Linked DNA regions of Homo sapiens: all the other regions are linked to region 1. The links are contacts of gene promoters, found by promoter capture Hi-C in blood cells and fetal thymus (Javierre and others, 2016). All regions are on one chromosome and are shown on one strand. The core of a region is centred on a gene start or on the middle of the fragment in contact, and the rest is flanking DNA. Distances in the headings are between cores, read along the strand shown.

Region 1 (3,102 bases), core at 434-2,933:
CGTGCCCGGTCCTATCTCACTTCTTTTACAACCAGAAGGCTAACTCCAGCCTTTATAAACATACCCACAGGAAATACTGGCCACTGAGTATAGTAAATTTATATTTTTCGTTTATATTTCTCATTCACTTTACATGCAATAGATAGCTTTTACTTTTACAATCATAAAAACTACTTCAAACGCTCCGCATATGTTCACATTAAACACACCATGAGTTTATTTTTTTAATAGCTTTTTAAAGATACAGATTTCTTTTTTTTTTTTTTTGAGACAGAGTCTCGCTCTGTCGCCCAGGCCGGACTGCGGACTGCAGTGGCGCAATCTCGGCTCACTGCAAGCTCCGCTTCCCGGGTTCACGCCATTCTCCTGCCTCAGCCTCCCGAGTAGCTGGGACTACAGGCGCCCGCCACCGCGCCCAGCTAATTTTTTGTATTTTTAGTAGAGACGGGGTTTCACCTTGTTAGCCAGGATGGTCTCGATCTCCTGACCTCATGATCCACCCGCCTCGGCCTCCCAAGGTGCTGGGATTACAGGCGTGAGCCACCGCGCCCGGCCTTTTTTTAAAGACGGAGTCTCGCTCTGTCGCCCAGGCTGGAGTGCAGTGGGGAGTAGCTGGGATTACAGGCGCCCGCCACCACGCCCGGCTTTTTTTTTTTTTTTTTTTTTTTTGTATTTTTAGTAGAGACGGGGTTTCACCGTGTTAGCCAGGATGGTCTCGATCTCCTGACCTTGTGATCCGCCCGCCTTGGCCCCCCAAAGTGCTGGGATTACAGGCGTGAGCCACCGCACCTGGCCAGATTTCAAGGGTGGAAGAATAAAACTGAACCAAGGGCAGCCAGATTTTTCTACCAGAGGTGCAAAAGAAAACCTGATACACAAAAATTTTAGTTATGGCATTTCAAAATCCTAAATAAACTAGAAAGCTCGTTTTTCCTACAAAAATTTATTTTTGCTATTATGAACAAACCCTGTCAGAGCCTTGATCCTTTTTTTTAAATTCCAAAATTGACGCAAAGGCTACCAAATGCAGTACAAAATGAAGTCGAAAAATCTAAAAACGATTTCACTTCTACTTCCTACATACAGATGGCAAATAACTTTTCCTTCACTTTCCTTTCTCTTCCTTTAATAAATTTAAGAATTTTAATTAATGTTTTTTAAAAAGGCTGCTTTCAAGTTCAGAGACAAAAATTGGCACAGTTAGAAAGGAGGTCACCAACACGGTCAAATAGGGACTCGCTCCGCCGCAATGCCTCTGGACCTCTTCATCTCTCAGGCTGGGAAAATAAAGCAGACAAGCTCTGAAAAACGCCCGGGACTAACTGTTAAGAGGCCCTGCATCCTCAGTTGAACATTCCTTCAGGAATGCCCGGGGACCTTGCTGGGGGGGTTCAGGAAGGTGTCTGACTCTCTGGGAGTGTGTCTTGAGGTTTCGCCTAAAACTTAAAATAAGAAAATCGGAGGCCTGAGAGAACTTTGCAAACAAATGTCCAGCATCTTCTCTGACGCTTAGAAAGTCCGTTACCCGCGCGGAGGCGAACTTCTCCACTCACTGGAAGGCCACCAACCCTAGCTAACGCCACGCCCAGGCCGCCAACTGGCTGACCCGGAAGTGCTCGGCGGCGGCCGCGGCGGCGGGGACGCGGCCTAGCCGAAGCACCCGCGCGCGCGCGCGCGCGCTCGTTCTCCGCGGAACTCCCGCCGGCGGCCCGGCTCACGCGGAGGCGCGCCCGAACTGTCGCGGCCGCCGCCAACATGGCCGAGACCAGCGAGGAGGTGGCGGTGCTGGTGCAGCGGGTTGTGAAGGACATCACTAACGCCTTCAGGAGGAACCCACACATGTGAGTCGCGCGCCTCCGCCGCCTCCGAGGGTCGTCGGGAGCGGGCGGGGGCGGGGCCAAGCGTCCACCCGACCTCGGGCGGCGGGCGGACAGCGGGTCCTGGCCCACGAGCCCTTCTAGGGAGGAGGCAGAGCCGTGTCGGGCGGGACCGTTGTCGGCCGCCGCTGGCCCGGCTTTCCGCTACCGGGACGCGCTCGCGGTCGAGTCCCTAGAAGTGACCTCAAAAAATCAAAACGGAACTACTTTCTCTGTCCCTCCCCACCTTTTCATAGGAGTTCACGAAACTCCAGAGACGTCCCCCGTAGGTCGACATCCTTCCTGTGTTTAAGGTACTCGGGCGCACACAACGATGTGGGTCCGTGTATGCCTTGTAAACACAACTCTTGAGATTCATCCCGGACGTTGGCAAGAGGGGGTAACCGATCCTCTTACTTTTAATGAGCCTCAAACCCCTCAGTTTACTAACTAAAGGTGGTTTGAGGCTGCTTTTGACTTTAGCCTTACTTGCCACAAAATTGTAAAGTGACTCCGATAATACATTGTGTTTTGAAAGGTGAACAGAACATTCTCAAGAGAAGCTTCTGTGGGCGCAGTGTGGAGTCTGGGATAAAGCAAATGAAACCTTGATACTTTTTAGCATAAGCGGATTCATAGTTACAAGGAGCATGTTAACTCATTTTTATCCCAACACTGCTGCCCTCTTTAACGGGACACTGCAGAACTGACATATGTATCTCTTCCATTTTACTTGAAGTACTGTGGGAAGATACCGCAAGAGTCTACTTTTTGTAACACTTTGCTTTTATGTAACAAGTGAAAAGAAAGCTATTGAGAGAGAGAGAGAGATCTACATTATACAAAGGTGTAGGGAAGAAGCAACAATGTACCTCCTTTCCCATACCTCTTCCTCCTCAAAGAAAAGAAACATGGCATCCAGTTCTGCATTACTTTCATTTTAGCTAGTTGTTTTTGGAGTTTATTTTTTTTTTTTTTAGTTTATTATTTTTTATTATTATTTAATTTATTTTTATTTTATTCTTTAGACTGGAGCTCATGATTTTTTTTTTTAAGTATTCTAACCGGTTCAGCTTTTCTGCCTAAAAAAGTTGCCAAACGTGTATCTTACCAAAGTGTTCTTTTCCTCCAAGGTGATGATTGTAAAACAGTTAAGAAGCCGTTGGATGTTTTGCTCCCTTGTGGCACACAATTGGAGACGTGCAACTGTGCCACATTAAAAACAAAACACTGCTGGCCTCAAAAC
Region 2 (3,192 bases), core at 552-3,051, 660 kb before region 1:
TCCTGCCAAGGGTTTGTTCTGAATTCCACTCTCTAGTATCTCACCAAGCTTCCTTCCCTCTTTTGGCAGCTGAGAGGCCATCCAGGGTAAGGATTTTTTCAGGGTCGTGGGGTCAGAAGGAAACCAGCAAACAGTCAGGACTTTTATTCCCTCTTCTCTGCTACCAAAATACCAAGGCAGTGTTTTGGGTATTTAAAAGAACATTTTAAATGTCCTTGTTTGTTTCTGCCTCTGTGCAACATTGTGCTGGGAAGGACAGGGAGCTGGTAACCATGGCAGTGGAGCAGAGGGTGGTGGTGAAGAGGTGGTTTTTAAATGGGGTGAACTTCAGGCAGGCGGCACCCAGAGCTGGAACCCCCACGGCCTCCTTGGAGTCCTTTGTTCATTCAGCTTACTTAGGGAGAGAGCCTGCATTCTTCCCCGCTGTGAAGCAAGCTTTGAAAGGAAAGGTTTTGCCAGACTCCATAAGGAGAGGGTGTGTCCCTAGGAGCAGGTTTTGGGGTTCTGCCTGAAAACCTTGGTCGGCAGAGAATTTTGGGCACCCTGTTACGAACAGGACAGTCTGTGATGGCAAAGAAGCCAGCTCTGCAGCATCCTGGATGCAGAGTTCTTACACACCGTTAGCTGTCTCACCACTTCTCCCTGGACAGGTGGCCACTCGTGGGGGTGGCCCAGAATCCTGGCCAAAAAAGACAGCCAGGCAGGGCCCCCACAGGAAGGTAGCTGGCAGGGGAGTCAGGAGGAGAGGAAGGGGGAGGGAAGCAGTCACCTCTTCCACGTTCCTGGATAGGGAGCCTTAAGACCCTTTTCAGGACAAATAAGTGCCCCCCAAAAAGCGGACACAGGGCAAGGCAGGACAGGACAGGGCAAACCTGGGGCACAGCTCGGGGCCAGGGAAGTCCCATGACTGCAGTGTTCAGCTGCAGGTTTCCCAGCTGCTCTGGGCGGGAAGCGGCGCCGGGAGATGGGGGCGGGGAGAAGGGAGGGGAAAAGAGGAGGAGGGAAGTAAACAGGAGACCACAGAGAGAGCCAGTTCCCGGCGTTCAGAGAACACTAGCCGCCTCCGGTCCCCGGTGGGTGGCTGTATGTGTGGAAATGAAACTGGGAGGAGGAGGGAGAGAGGGAAGAGCGGGCACGCACTTCTCGGCTGTCATCCACCTTGCCTCTTCCGACCCTCCAGCCCGCTCCCCACCGGGGTAGGGGGTTGGGGGAGGTGGGAGGAAAACAGTTCAGCAAACGCCCACCTCCAAGTACCAGTAGCTGGTTCAGCTGTCGGTGAATCAGACACTGTCTCAGCAGCTTGTCACCTGCGCTTGGGAGGGGAACAGAGGGCAACCTTGGAACTTGGGAGGGGGAGGTTGGGAAAGTGCAGGATCCAGCACTGGGCCTGGGCCTGGGCGTAGGGGTGACGCCTACGGCTCGGAAAAGGGCTATCCACCTCCCTACACCTACACACGTCTCGACCCAGTACCCGGACGCCGAGTAGAGGGGGTGGGACAAGAGCATGGGGGCCGTACAGAAGGGGGAACTGGAAGAAGGGGAGGGGAGAATGGGTTGGGGGTGTGCTGCGGCGGGAAGCGCTGGGTGCCGGGCGGGCGCGGCCGCGGGGAGAGCTGCTGCCCGGTGCCTGCCCGCGCGAGGTTATGCGAGGTAACCGAGCGGAGAGGAGGAGGGAGGCGGCGGGGGCCGCGGGCCGGGGTGTCTGGCACTCGTTGGACAAAGAGATGATGAAACGTGAGCGCTATATTTACCAAGGGGGTGGAGACGGGGCGGGGGGGGCGGAGAGTAAAAAGGACAAACTGTTCCACAACAACCACAGGAAACACAGCCCATTCTGACTCACTGGGAGGGCCACACCGAACCCCTCGCAGGCTTAGCCTGAAGGCAGACGCGGGGCGCAGGTGCTCCCGGGACCGGACCGAACCTGGGCTGGGGCTGGATTGATTTATAAATAAAGGCACATTCGATCCAAGAGTGCGTGTGTGCGTGCGTGTGGTTCTTGTGGGGTAGGGGAGAGCACGGAATGGCAGGAATGTTTCCTAACCCCTTGGCCGGGCCATCGCGGGAGAGATCTGCCGGCAAACTCTGGGAGCGCAATTCCTGCAAAGTCATCTCCTCCCGCACAGCCTGGCCGGCCTGCCCGCCACGCCCCGCCCGGGGACAGCAGCACCCGCCTCCCCCACTCCCTCCCCACCCCCGCAGCCCATGGAGTTGGGGTGCGGTGCTTGCTATGTTTAGAAGCTGATGTCATCTCGACACCCTACTCTGCAGTGTTCCTAGGAGGACCGCAGGGCAGGTTTTCCTCTTCCTCGCGGGCGTGGGGGATGGAAGGTGGCCAAGGTGCCCTGCCCTCTCCCCAACACAGGAACCCCACACCCATCTACCCGGGAGATTAAAAGAAAAAAAAATGCAACACCGCCAGAGTTATGAAACAGGGTGGCGGGGGCGGTACGTGCACGCGGAGAGCGCAAAGCAAGGGCCTGGGCCGCGCGGGGCTCCCCCCCGGTCCCCGCCCACTCCCACCCCCGCGCTCCCGGGTGCAGGGGCTAATTTCAAGGTTAGCTCACGTGGGCGTGGGCGCCCGGAGCTCCTTGCACGAGTTTGGGGCGGGTTCCTGGTCCCCCAATCTAGGGCAGTTTGTTCAACTGCAGTAAAGGGAGCTTGATGTTCCAGCAGGGAAGGGATTTCTGAGAACTGGGACTGTCCTCAGATGAACTCGCCTCCTCAGGCTGCTGCGGCGGCGGCCGCCTGCGGAAGACTTTTTAAAAGGGCGATGCCAGGCCGGGGCGCGCGGTCCACGAGTGGCTGAGTCGCCCGCCAGTCCGCGGCCGGAGCCGAGCGCCCGCCCCCGAGCGCGGGTGATTCACCGAGTGCCGCGCTGGGCCGGTCGGAGCGCGGGGGGCTGCGAGCTAAACTTATCCTCCTGCATATGCATGAACGGGCGGCCTTTCTGCGCTGCAGAGGAGAGGGCTGGAGTTTTGCGGAAGGCTGCTAAGTGGGGCGGGAGCAAAGTAGGGCGGCGTGCAAGTTTTCGCGCTTGCCTGAGCGCCCTTCCCCCTCCAGCCCCTGGGTGTTAGCTGTCATTATGGCCACGGGCGTTCCACCAGATCGGGCTTTACCTGATTGTATTTCAAAATCCAGGAACATCGCCATTGTTGGAAGCTTTATCCCTTTAGCCTCTCCCCTCCTCAA
Region 3 (3,355 bases), core at 716-3,215, 980 kb after region 1:
TTCAAGTTAATAATAAAAAAAAGTTTATAATAATAATAATAAAAAAACCAAAAGGGCCTAAATTCAAAAGGAAAAAAAATAGACAGTAATAGGGACTTGAGAAAATGGCCTTGGTTTTCTCATCTCTTCAATGGGAATCCATAGCACCTGCCTCACAGGGTTGTCATGAGGATTTTAAACACTCATAAATGTAAAGCACTAAAAATAGTGTCTGGACCCATAGTGAATGCTCAAGAAATATTAACACATCATTATTATTATTACTGGCAAAAACTCACGTTATCAGGCCATTTATCACTTCCTACCCAGGAAGGCAAATGGTCATAAGGGAATCACAATCTGGTGAAAATCTTGGCTGCCACGCAATGATAGCCTTATTTCACAGACAGCATACTGAAGACACAGCTCAAGATTTCTAAAATCTGGAAGGAAGAAGTAGTCATTAGAGAAGGATCAGTATTTCTGATTTCTAGAAGGGGGCTATCACCTATAAAAAGAAGAATAAGGCTTGTTTTGCATTTGCCAAAGGTGGACTTGAATTGAATGGTGGAAGTTAGAGGGAAATGTCTGTTCACTATAAGAAAGGCTAACATCAGAAACAATCGCTTCATAAAAGGATAGCCTGCTTTGAAGGATATTGTACTGTTAACTGAGTGTGAAAGCAGGAGTTTCATCCATCAAGGATGCTAATTGCCCAGCATCTTTGTAAGCACATTGTGTACGAACCCATTCAATCCTCACCACAGCCACCCTGCTCCACTGTCTATATTCCTAACCACCACAATTCGCTGCCTACCTCCCAGCTCTGGAATCCTGGGCAAGTAACTCAACCTGTGTCTCCATTTCCTCATTTATAAAATGAGGATAATGATAGCACTTGCCTCAGATGATAGTGATAGATTAAATGCATTGATATATTTGCTTAGCACTTAGAACAGTCCCTGACACATAGCAAGTATTTTATTACTTTTTATACAAAGGTCATTTCAACTTTTAAGAAAATTTTTTTACTTGGATGGCAAGTTACAGAAGCCACAAAGAACTCTGTCTTGGCTACAGTGAGCAATCTGACACAATTTTTTACCAAGTAAGTGGCACTCAAGGCTTGCCTTCAGCCCTGATTCTCTAACAGCCATGAAAAATGTGGGCAAAACTGCTGGAGTGAGAGACCTACATTGAGACCAGATTCTCTATACTTTGTCATGGCTGATAAGGTAAAGCCCTGAAAAAAGTGGTCTAGTCCATAAGCCTCTGCTCCCTTCTCTTATCCTCAATGCCTCAGCCAATCATTCAAACTACACTTTCAGCAGAACCCTTAACTACTTCACACACTGGGCTTTACCTAGTACCCACTTAACCAATTCCCAAACCTAGTCAATCCAACCCACTTCCTTGTGCCTGCCATCCAACTGCAACCTGGCATCCATCATAGCCTAATAAGCCTTCTACTTGTCCTTAACTTACTCCTTTAGATTCTCAGAGGCAACATTAAACCTTTACTGCACTCAAGCTTCCAAATGATCTCCTGTCCCTATCCTCATGTATCTTAGATTCCTCAATAATTGGAAAATAGGCACAATCAGAAACAAATTCTACTTTTCATATACCTACCTCCATACTCCTAAACCCCTGCAACAACAAATCAATTCAACATTTATGGATATCTTTGCCTAGCCTTTTCACTCTCCCTCCTGTTTCAGAAGAAAAATAAGTTTCCAGACCTCCTTTCCAAGGCCAACTCTTTCTTCTGTTCTCTGGTGCTACTCAAGAAATGATCATCATCTTCTTGGTTCAATTGTCTGGCAACCATTCCCCTGACTCCCACCTCTGTTAGATCTTCAAAATTGTTCTACTAATCTATAAACACACCCTGAAAAAAAATGTTCTCAGACTCACTTTCCTCATTTAAGTCTTGATTCCTTCCCCAATTTTATTGCCAAATAAACTGGTCTCTTGCTACAGGTATGTAACTGGTTGAACTAATAAATGTGAATCACTGGAAGGCAATCTGATACAAGTTATTCTTGATTACAATCAATCTTTTAAGTATGCTTAAGGGTCCTAACATCCAGCAGCCTTGGAGTTAATGATCTTTAATGATTTCTCCCATTTATACTGTGTTTTTAACAAGCATAATAAAGGAAAATATACCAGAGGTTTATTAAGTATGACAAACTGTACTTTAAATAAATGTTGCTATTGACTTTAGGACTTCTTGCACAAAGTTTATAGATTAGCAATACTAATACCTTAAAAATGCTTTTTGAAGGATAATTCTTACACGAGCTAAGTAAGCCCTTACAGTCTACAGAATAATGATGGACGTTATGAACAATACTATGATAACGTAAATTGTCCACATGCCCTTAGAACCTTATCTGATTTAAAAACTTCCCATCTATATAGAAGAATAAGCTTACAGAAATAATGTTTCCATACCTTCGGGGAAAAGGATCTAAAATAGGAGAGAACATGATGTATTTAAGGAAAAGAAAGGCAAGCCAGTGAGGGCGAAGCACAGAAAACGAGGGGGGAGGAGGGAAGGACCAAATTCCTCAGGGCCTCCTAGCCCAGAATTAATACATTTTGGCATACTCATGAGAACAGGAAGCAAATGAAAAGCGTTCAGCTGGGAGATGGAAGGATCAGGTCCGCAATTTTAAAAGAATGACTCTAGTTGCTGTATGGAGAATGAATGGATAGCCGACCAGAGTGAGTGTGAGGAGCACAAGTGGGAGTTAGGAAGTTGCTTCAGAAGCCTAAGAGGGAAATGCTGGTAGCCTGGATCAGAGTGGCAATAGAGGTAGAAATAAGGAGATAGATTCTAGCTGATAAAAATCAGTAAGACTTGAGGAATGATTAGATATGGGGAAAAGTAAAGAAGAGAGGTGTCAATGACATGTTGGTTTCCTGCATTTATATACATATATACATGGAAATGCCAGTAACACATCTTGTACAATAGATATCAAGTTGTTAACAGAAGTTATCTGTGGAAAGGGAAGATGAATTTTACATAATTAAAAGCAGACTTTTAAAACCACACAGATATGTACAATGTTTAAATATTTTACAATCAGCAGGTATACATTGCCTTCATACTTAAACTCACGTGCAATTTGCCTCCCTGAAAAGGATAGGAATTATCCCAAAGAACAGACACAAGAAAAGTACATGACATATTTAAAGAATATCAAGTGGTCTAATGTTTGCAGAATAAGAAGGAAAGATGTATACTGGAACAGAGATGAGGAGAGGATTGAAGCTATTTCAGAATATGGCCAGATCATAAAGGTCCTTCTATCTGAGGCTAAAGAAATCATTCCTTAAAGAGTAGGAAATGGGGAAGCAAGTG
Region 4 (3,211 bases), core at 445-2,944, 630 kb before region 1:
AAATACCCCATTTACCATGTACAGAATCCCTATAGATTCTTAAGGTTATTTTCAGACCCTACTCTGTTCCACTGATTTGTCTTTTCCTGTGCTGCTATCTCACTATCTTAATTATTACAGCTTTAATAATCCATTTTAATAACTAGTATTGCAAGTGCTCACTTATTATTTGTTCTTCCGCAAAATTTTCTTGGCAAGTTGGGCATGTTTATTCTTCCAAATGAACTTCAGAAATAACTTTGTCAAGTTCTAGAAAAAGAAATTCTTACGGTGTGTGTTAATTCCGTAGATGAATTTGTACAGAATTGCCATATTCACACCATTGAGCCTTACCATCCAAAGGCATGGCAAGCATTTTGTTTGTTCATTTTCTTTTATATTGAGGCTTTATGCATTTCTTCACCAAGGTCCTGAACTTTTATTGTTAGGCTTATTCTGACTGGTTATGGCTGGCATATAAGAAAGCCAGTGCTCTTTTGTACAGTTACATCTGTGAATGCACCTTTAATTTAGATTAGATTTTTCAGTTATCTTGAATTTTTTCAAAGAGAAAGTTGTGTCAACTGCAAATAATTCTTATTTTATAACCCCCCCTTCTTCTCACCATTTACTTCTTATTTTATCTAATTGCACTCATTAGTATTTCCTGGAAAATGTTAAATTATAGCAATGGGAGCGGGTGTCCATTTATGCTTTGGGCTAGACTTTAGTAGTTATACTACCTTTATTTTACTGTTGACCTTGCAGAGGAAAGGTTTCAGAGCTGATCTTTTATACTGCTGAGGAATTATTTTATTTTCCTGAAAGCTTTTATTAGGGATGGTTGTTCAATTTTATCATATACTATTTTGTACACGATAAGAGTGTGTATATGATATTAAATGATACTAAATGTGTGTGTGTGTGTGTGTGTATGAGCTGTTAAATGGGGGAATAATATCAGTATGATTTAATAATATCAAATTGTCCTTTTTAAAATTACATTTCTTTTGTAGAGTTGGGGTGTTACTGTGTTGCCCAGATTGGTTTTGATCTCCTGGGCTCAAGCAGTCCTCCCATCTCAGCCTCCCAAAGTGCTGGGATTACAGGCGTGAGCTACCACAGCCAGCCCAAATTCTTCTTTTATCTATGGAATCCTAGTGCTGTTTTTGCAATCAGAAACCACTCTTTTTTTTTTTTTTTTTTTTGAGACAGGGTCTCAGTCTCACTCTCACCCAGGCTGCAGTGCAGTGGCACAATCATAGCTCACTGCAGCCTCAACCTTTGGGCTCAAGCAATCTTCCCGCCTCAGCCTCCCAAGTATCTGGGACCACAGGCAAGCACCACTACGCCTGGCTAATTTGTTGTATTTTTGGTAGAGATGGGGTTTCACCACATTGCCCAGGCTGGTCTTGAACTTCTGTGTTCAAGTGATCCATCTTGAGCGGCTGAGCATTATTTTTCTTCTAGAAGAAGTCTTGATTTTCTACATCTGCAAGAAACTTTAATTCTTAATTGGCACTGTTTGAGCTCTGTTCTGAAAAGGAGGCCTAAATCCCTTAGATTTGTTTTTTACCAGATTGGTTTACTTTTGCTAGATGCAATGGAAGCTTTTGATTTTGTATTTTTGACTTTCCTGTCTCCATTAAAGTTAGACCCATCCCTGGACTTGGGTGGGGCAGGGAAGATGAGAAGAACCAGGTAGGAAAGAGACGACATTCAGATGGCAGGCCTCCCTGACCCCAGGCAGGACTTCAGTGGCAGCCTGGACAGCTCAGGGAGTCTGGGGAGGGTTGCCTATGTCCAGTGAGCAAGCTTGGCACTTGGCAAGTACCCGGTCTCTGTCTTCTCTATGGAGAACTCACCTCCATTCGTTTCAGGACTGCCCACAAAAAAATGGGCTTCATTTGGCATCATCAACTAATCAGCAGTCGAGGAGGCTCCCTCTCAAAAGCAGCAAGTGTCCTTTTGTGCTAAGTAGGCAAGCACATAGCCAGGGGGCCCCAGTCCACTGTTCTTGCACCCTCCGTAGGCCCAGGAGAATTCTGGAGGCCTGATGACTGTCTCTGCAAAGGAAGTCTTTTACACATTGTGCGCAGTGTTCAGTAGCTTTTTTGATCACATTTATTTTATACTCTGAGCTGAGTCAGTCAGCAAGAGGTGCTTAGCTTGTTACTGAAAGGGGCGGGGAGTGGTATATAAATAATGAGAACTCAGAGAAACTTGTGCTGTTAACAGCTCTGCTCCAGTAAAGTGGAGTTTATTGTGTCACTGCCTCTGGGTGTGTTTTCCTGTGAAGGCCAGAAATAATGCAGTGGTACAAGTGTGTTGGGTATTTTTTTCCCTATCCCCAGGAGGATGGTAACTCTCTCATTAATACTAAAGACAGGTTTAAAGATTCTCTAATTGATAGTTGCATTGCTGTGTGATTTGTTCAGCGTGAAGGCTGACCATTCTCCTTTAGACCTTAGCACCGAGCCTCAAAGAGAGGGCCTGACTTGGTTTCCCCCAGGCTGCCAGACGAAGGTGGAGTGACCGTCTCTCTAGGCCAGTCCTCTCCTCCTCTGTAGATCATCTCTGGTCCCATTCAGCCTTAATTCTGTTCTCGTCTACATGTGACTTCCCCATTCCATGCTTTCTTAAGTGCAAAACATCTATCATTTTCTAAATAATACCTTATTATATGACTGTCATTAACTTATATGCTGGGATGTTAGATTCAACATCATGGCATGTTAGATCCAAACTCTCCACTGTATTAAAAAGGTGGGAGATTTTTCAAAGGGCTACAAATTGTAGGTCCCTAAGCAGAATCCAGCCTGCGTACACACCACTGGGTGGCACCATAATTTATAATGTTGAAATTGAATGCCTCTAAGTAGGGGAAGCACCCTGTTCAGTTCACCATGGAATCCATTATGATCCATGATTGAATGCACCTGCTCCCACCCTGTCCCCGACCTGTGTCTGGCTCCTGAAGACATTTGAATTTACAAATTCTGGTGGCCAGTTAGAAGTTCAAGTCCTCTGTTATTTGTTTATTTACTTGAGACAGGGTCTCACTCTGTTGCCCAGACTGGAGTGCAGTGGCGTGATCTTGGCTCACCACAACCTCCGCCCCTCGGGTTCAAGCGATTCTCATGCCTCATCCCCAGTAGCTGGGATTATAGGTGTGCAACGCCACACCCAGCTTCAAGTCTTTTGATTGAGATCAGGAATCAACCAACTTTTT
Region 5 (3,054 bases), core at 27-2,526, 990 kb after region 1:
AACATCTGCCCTTCAGCAAAAAGGAAGGGAAAATGCAATTAATGCTACTGCTTTTCGAATACCTAACAGATCTGACCATCAGATGTAGAATATAAGCTAGAAAAAAAAACACAGTATAAGTGACAGTGAAAACCTGTCCCATTTTTCCTACTTAATTTGCTCTTGGAAAATGTAAAATTGAAAGGCTCAATTAATCTTAATGATGTGTCACAGAACAGAAAGATTTCCCTGGGCTAAAAAGCATTCTGCACATGCCTCAGAATTCAAAAGAAAGAATGCATTGAGGAAGATGTAGACAATGGCCAGTTCCCCACAAAGATAGCCTCTCAATCTTCTTTTTCAATTTTTAAAATAATTTTTCAATTTAAAAAATAATACGGGGAAATAGGGATGCATTACTGGGAATAAACAAGTTGTACATTTACTGAGGCAAACACTTCATCATTTGTTCAAATGCTTCCGTGGCTTTTCCCAACAGGGCGACTACGACTAGCTAATTTTTAAAAGTACTGTTGTATGACCAAGAGTGGAGAAGGTTTGCCCAGTATCTTTACTTTATTATTAGCACCAGGGGTTTCTATTGAAATGCCTCCAAGGGCCAACAACAGATAGATAACTAATGGGTGACAGTACTGAGAGAATAGAGCATTTGCACTTAACAGACTGGAGAGACCCAGGCACCTAAAGGTGGCTGACAGCTACTGCTCAATTCCACCCAACAGCTGCCCTTGCAGAAAAGGATGCCATACATTGCCCAAGCTTCTAATTTTTTAATAGAGGTTAAAAATCTAGATTTTTAAAAATGTGGATGCTTACAATTTGTAGATGTTGAACTAAAAAACAAATTTAAAAGTTAAACATAGGGTAGACCTAATCAAAAGGTTCTAAAGGCTGTCTTAGGCTCTGAGGACAAGCTGTGACCTCTGACAACCCATTCTTCTCTCTCCTTACTTTACAGTCTATGCCTTCCTTCCCCAGGACTGTGAATTCCTCTTCTGCCCCTTGATGATCACTGCTCCATAAAGTCCTTTGTCATTTTTATGTATACCCAACTTCTGTCTCTGGCTACATGGTCTCTGAAAAAGGGCAGCCACTGTGTCTTGTAGGTAAAGTGTCCTGCAGCACTTAGTGTAGGGCCTGGGGTGTGTCACATACATATGAATGATGGTGGAAACTTCAAATCATGTATACATCCACTTTTTCCTTTTCTTCCCACTTCTCTTCCCACCGGCATAGTTATAACTAGCCATCCATCTTACTGATTTCTCTTGTTGTTTCCAATAATTTTTCAGTTGATTCTTTCTAGCTGTGCAATTGAAATATCTGCAAATAATGTTAACTTTGCAACTTCCTCCCCAATATTTATGTCTATTATTTCCTTATCTCCTGACTGGTACTTTCCGTGTACAGTTTATAATTTCAGTGAAAGTCAGCATTCTTATATATTTGATTTAAATGGGAATGCATTCTACTTATTTTACTAAGTTTTAATTTTTTTCTTTTTATTTGGGAATGTGTGTCAGTTTTTTTTGTTACTATAAACTTATAATTTTATTTATTCCTTTAAAAGTTCATTTTAGTGGCATATAATTTAGTGCAATAAAATTCACCCTTTTAAAGAATATAGTTCAGTTAGTTTTGACAAACTTAAACAGTCATGTAACCACTGCCCAAATTAATCTACTAGTGGATGTTGAATTTTAGTATTTTTGGCACCTATTAAGATGACCATACAGGTTTTTCTTTTTTCATCTAATATGTGGACTAGCTTCTCCATTATTGAGCCAAGCTTAAATTCTTGTGATGTACCTACTTGATCATGGTATTTATTTAATGCATTGCTAAATTATTTCTTTTTCTTTTTTTTTTTTTTTTTTTTAAGACAGAGTCTTGCTCTGTCACCCAGGCTGGAGTGCAGTGGCGCAGTCTCGGCTCACTGCAGCTTCCACCTCCCAGGTTCAAGCGATTCCCCTGCCTCAGCCTCCCGAATAGATGGGATTACAGGTGTGCACCACCACACCTGGCTAATTTTTGTATTTTTAGTAGAGACGCGGTTTCACCATGTTGGTCAGGCTGGTCTCGAACTCCTGACCTTAAGTGATCCACCCGCCTCGGCCTCCCAAAGTGCTGGGATTACAGGCGTGAGCCACAGCGCCCGGACTGCATTGCTAAATTCTATCTGATGGTATTTTATGAAAGGGTTTTGCATCAAGATTGATCTGCAGTGTGTGCACATACAGGCACATGCCCATGCCAGCTATCTTTGTGAAGTTTTGGTACTAAGATCATTTTGGTATCTTAAAAAATCTTGAAAGTCTGTCTTTTGCTCTATACTTAGAAAAAGTTGAAATAGTAATGTGACCATCTGTCAGGTTTACATGGGGCATTCTAGTTTATACTGGTTCTCTCAATTAAAGCTCCCTTCAATAAACTATATAGTTACCCTACTTAATATCAATATCCCTGACTATTTGAAGAATTTACTTGGGCTATCTGGGGGCCTGCACTTTGAATTTAGAAAGCATCTTTTGATAACATTTTTATTTCTTTCATGGTTACTGACTCTCTCCTGGGACCACTTTAATAAAGTAAATTTTCCTAGAAATACCACTTACTTCACCTATCTCCATAGTGTTTCATGTAGTACCTAACAATATTTTTTGGTTACTTCTCCTTTTTGATATCTGATATTGTTGATTTTTTACCTTTGTTTTGGTAATAAAGAGATATTTATTTATTGTAAAAAAATTTAAAATACAGACACATAGAAAAAAATAGTTGAAAATTACCCACAATCCCATCACCCAGAAACAATTACTTTTGACACTGTAATAAAAAGCATTCCAGATTTTTATCTGTGTACATACCTACCTATCTACATAATGCAATGTTTATTAACTTGCCCTTTCCATATTTGTTGTGAACACTTTTTCCATATCAGTAAATATAGACTTACATCTTCAATTTCAATGGCTGTGAAGTATGGCTATTCCATGACCTTCTTATACATATTTCTAATAGGGGATAAGCAGGTAGGTTAATTTTTTTCAACTA
Region 6 (3,455 bases), core at 173-2,672, 720 kb after region 1:
ATCCTGTGAGGGACGTACTCTTATTACAGTCCTTATTCTTGGTAGTTATGTGCTACAAAGTTGCCACAAACACTCAACGAGCAAATTATTTATAGGAGAAATACAAGGCTAGGTACCCTGTAAGCTGCTGGTCACAACATTGTTACCAATCGATCAATATATAACCTTATTTCTGTTTAAAGACACCTTATGTAATATATATAGTTGATTCATTAACACTGATCTTGGCTGGGCATGGTAGCTCACACCTGTAATCCCCGCACTTTGGGAGGCCAAGGTGGGAGGATTACTTGAGCTCAAGAGTTTGAGACCAACCTGGGCAACATAGAGAGACCTCATTTCAACTTGAAAAATAAAAAACATGAGGCCGGGCATTGTGGTTCGTGCCTATAATCTCTGCAGTTTGGGAGGCGGAGGCGGGTGGATCACCTGAGGTCAGGAGTTCAAGACTAGCCTGGCCAACATGGTGAAACCCCGCCTCTACTAAAAACACAAAAATTAGCAAGGCGTGATGACATGTGCCTGTAATCTGTGCTACTCAGGAGGCTGAGGCAGAAGAATTGCTTGAATCCGGGAGGTGGAGGTTGCAGTGAGCCAGGATCGCACCATTGCACTCCAGCCTGGGTGATGAGCAAAATTCCACCTAAAAAAATATCAAAAACATTATCTGGGTGTGGTGGGGTGTACCTGTAGTCCCAGCTACTCAGGAGGCCGAGGTGGGAGGATTGCTTGAGCCAGAGAGGTAGAGGCTGCAGTGAGCTATGATTACACCATTGCACTCCAGCAGCCTGGGCAACAGAGGGAGACCCTGTCTCAAACAACAACAACAACAAATTAATTGATCTCAGGACAACAGCACCTTAACTCATGCCTGACAAAGCTTCTCTAACACATGCATTTTCTCTGTAAGGAACATCACAGCCTCCTCGTGCTAAACTTTGCACTACACTTGGAGACAATTTTAACAGAGAAATAACCAAGAAAAAAGCATAAAAATCTGAAAAACATGGCACTAATCAGACTGTGAAAAGGACACAGTTTACACTATGACAGCTGAAATAAGAAGGCAGGGCAGCACTTTGTTGGACCTTGGCTGGGAACATGAGCCTGGAGGAGCTCACATTTTTTTGCCGCTCTGCACACATCTTTGAAACGACCCCAAAAGGCTAGGGGTACTGATTTTGGGGTAACAAATTTTAGCAAGTGAGCAAATTAACAAGTACAGACTCTTAACGAATGAGGATCAACTATAGTTGTGTTTTACAGATGAGGAAACTGACGCACCAAAGGGTAACTTGCCTACACAGATACACAGACATTAAGTGGCAGAGCTGGGATTGAACCCAAGCTGTCTGGCCCCAGAGTCTGTGCACAGTGGAAGGAATTGTTTTCCCAGGAATTAAAGCAGTGCTCAAAACATCCAAGGAAAAGTGTCTGAGAATGTGGGGCTCACCTCAGGGAAGTTTCCATCTCTCCAGGATCCTGGCCCCTCAAACCTTAGTTGTCTTAGTCGCTGATACCTTCACAATAGCTGTTTTTGTTTGTGTGTGTGTGTGTTTAATTTAATAGAGATTTGATGGTTGTTACTGGTGGGAAGGTCAAATGCAGTTACTCCTTCAAAGGCACAAGTAGAAGTCTTTCTTCGGCTGTTTTTAATCATAAAAAAGAACCGTTGCCAAATACTCCTTGCTTTATATTCTACCTGCTTTTGCCAATTTAATATTCCTCGGGCAACTGCTAAACCTTTTGGAACCTCAGTTTACTCCTCTGAAGGAAGGGATCGTGGTACTCACAACAAACCTCACAACCGTGAGCATAAAACAAGAGAACAGAAATACCCCAAGTACAGAGCCTGAGGGTATTCAGGCTCTGAACAAAAGAATGGAGAACTAGGTGAGAGGCAAACTTCCGCCTCTGCCTAAGGGAGGCTCCATTCTGTTCTGCTTGAGGGAGGCAAAGCTTGGAGGTCAAGGTCATAGGATGAGTGTTCTTCCTTTTTTTTTTTTTTTCTGAGACGGAGTCTTGCTCTGTTGCCCAGGCTGGAATGCAGTGGCACAATCTAGGCTTATTGCAACCTCCGCCTCCCGGGTTCAAGTGATTCTCCTGCCTCAGCCTCCTGAGTAGCTGGGATTACAGGCGTGCACCTCCATGCCCAGCTAATTTTTGTGTTTTTAGGAGAGACAGGTTTCAGCATGTTGGTCAGGCTGGTCTCACTCCTGACCTCATGATCCACCCACCTTGGCCTCCCAAAGTGCTGGGATTACAGGCGTAAGCCACCGCACCTGGCCATGATGAGTGTTCTTTCTAAAGCCACCTGGCAGCCATGTCTCCCTCTAACTCCAGGTCACCCGTGAGCCCTTGGACCACAAGTCATGGTAGGCTTGCCTAGCTTGAGGCTTCAGATGTGTGTGCTCACTCACACAGTGCCTGCTCATGGGATGCATTTGAGGAAATATTAGATAGTTTCTGGGCCTGAAGTCTCAGGCCCAGTGGTCAGGAACCACTTGACCCAATCATTGCCTACCCCCTGGTAAGGACTGGCCTGGATGGCCAGCAGGGAGCCCAGCTTTCCTTCCCAGGTGTCCCCTTGTCACCCCCGGCCCTGTCAAACCACAGCACTTGAAGAGTGAATCAGGACCCATACCTCGCAGGGGAGGATGAACTGGCACCACCACTTTTGGCATCAAATGAGTTGATTATTGGCTGCCCCTTTGCCCAGCAATTCCATTCTGAGAAATTCACCTGAAAGGAACTTCTGTCCATGCACAAGAACAGTCACAGCAGCACCATCGTAACAACAGAACACTGCAATCAACCAAATGTCACCTAAAGGAACCTGGATAGTGTGATTTACAGTGTGATATATTTACCCAACCAGATACTATCCAGCAGTGAGAACAAATAAAGGACAACTGCATGCATCAATGCAGATGACGCACAAAAACAGTGTTGAACAAAAGGGGCAAGCCATAGCAGAACAGATACAGCAGAATACCTTGTATATAAGCAATACATGGATTGGGGGAGATACAGAGGAGGTCAAACTCTAAGAAAAGGAGGGTACGATGAACAGAATTCGGGCTGGCAGATTCCTCCAGGGAGGACAGGGCAGTGATGGGGTGAAGACAAGGGCCTCCAGAGGAACAAACAAATTCTATCTCTTAACCTGGTGTCAGGGATACAAGTATTTGTTATTTGTCTTAGTCTGGGATGTTATAACAAAATACCAGCCACTGGGTGGCTTATAAACAATAGAAATGTGTTTCTTAGAGTCCTGGAGGGTGGGAAATCCAAGATCAATGCACCAACAGCTTTGGTGTCTGGTGAGGGCCAGTTTCCTGGTTCATAGATGATGCCTTGTCACTGGGCTCCGTTGGGCTATTTTAGAAGGGCACTAATCCCAATCATATGGGCTCCACCCTCATACCTCATCACCTCCCAAGGGCCCCACCTCC

The links. Contacts are between HindIII fragments. The CHiCAGO score rates a contact against its expected background, and 5 or more counts as called.
Region 2: a contact is called between a fragment that was not itself captured here and the fragment with the promoter of PTAR1 in region 1, in 2 of 17 cell types (total CD8 T cells and total B cells). The highest score is 5.6, in total CD8 T cells.
Region 3: a contact is called between a fragment that was not itself captured here and the fragment with the promoter of PTAR1 in region 1, in 2 of 17 cell types (total CD8 T cells and fetal thymus). The highest score is 8.3, in total CD8 T cells.
Region 4: a contact is called between a fragment that was not itself captured here and the fragment with the promoter of PTAR1 in region 1, in 1 of 17 cell types (naive CD8 T cells). The highest score is 5.5, in naive CD8 T cells.
Region 5: a contact is called between a fragment that was not itself captured here and the fragment with the promoter of PTAR1 in region 1, in 1 of 17 cell types (total CD8 T cells). The highest score is 6.4, in total CD8 T cells.
Region 6: a fragment that was not itself captured here is called in contact with the fragment with the promoter of PTAR1 in region 1 in 3 of 17 cell types (total CD8 T cells, naive CD8 T cells and non-activated CD4 T cells); the score reaches 6.4 in total CD8 T cells.

What each region holds. Positions count from the first base shown.
Region 1 is chr9:69,758,592-69,761,693 of GRCh38, reverse strand. It overlaps PTAR1 (protein prenyltransferase alpha subunit repeat containing 1), which reads left to right and starts at 1,683. Exons shown (of 8, transcript NM_001099666.2): 1 at 1,683-1,841. The coding sequence starts at 1,756. LOC105376076 (a long non-coding RNA gene) reads right to left here and starts at 1,599. Exons shown (of 4, transcript XR_929910.3): 1 at 1,221-1,599. RefSeq lists enhancers at 1-661, 2,136-2,185 and a silencer at 1,526-1,995. The HindIII fragment of the contact is 9,606 bases long and covers 1-2,421 here.
Region 2 is chr9:70,418,739-70,421,930 of GRCh38, reverse strand. All of the region lies in intron 1 of KLF9-DT (KLF9 divergent transcript), which reads right to left. Among named protein-coding and RNA genes, the nearest start is that of KLF9, 5.7 kb to the right of the region's middle. RefSeq lists silencers at 1,488-1,577, 2,508-2,557, 2,658-2,967 and an enhancer at 2,405-3,126. The HindIII fragment of the contact is 2,727 bases long and covers 438-3,164 here.
Region 3 is chr9:68,783,150-68,786,504 of GRCh38, reverse strand. All of the region lies in intron 2 of PIP5K1B (phosphatidylinositol-4-phosphate 5-kinase type 1 beta), which reads right to left. It overlaps PABIR1 (PP2A Aalpha (PPP2R1A) and B55A (PPP2R2A) interacting phosphatase regulator 1), which reads right to left. Exons shown (of 1, transcript NM_138333.5): 1 at 939-3,355. Among named protein-coding and RNA genes, the nearest start is that of PABIR1, 4.8 kb to the right of the region's middle. The HindIII fragment of the contact is 905 bases long and covers 1,513-2,417 here.
Region 4 is chr9:70,392,001-70,395,211 of GRCh38, reverse strand. The region is part of intron 1 of KLF9 (KLF transcription factor 9); the gene reads left to right. LOC124900273 (a long non-coding RNA gene) reads left to right here. Exons shown (of 2, transcript XR_007061576.1): 2 at 1-2,155. Among named protein-coding and RNA genes, the nearest start is that of KLF9-DT, 21 kb to the left of the region's middle. The HindIII fragment of the contact is 205 bases long and covers 1,592-1,796 here.
Region 5 is chr9:68,766,419-68,769,472 of GRCh38, reverse strand. All of the region lies in intron 2 of PIP5K1B (phosphatidylinositol-4-phosphate 5-kinase type 1 beta), which reads right to left. Among named protein-coding and RNA genes, the nearest start is that of PABIR1, 12 kb to the left of the region's middle. The HindIII fragment of the contact is 1,030 bases long and covers 762-1,791 here.
Region 6 is chr9:69,040,794-69,044,248 of GRCh38, reverse strand. The region is part of intron 1 of FXN (frataxin); the gene reads right to left. Among named protein-coding and RNA genes, the nearest start is that of FXN, 6.8 kb to the right of the region's middle. The HindIII fragment of the contact is 1,079 bases long and covers 883-1,961 here.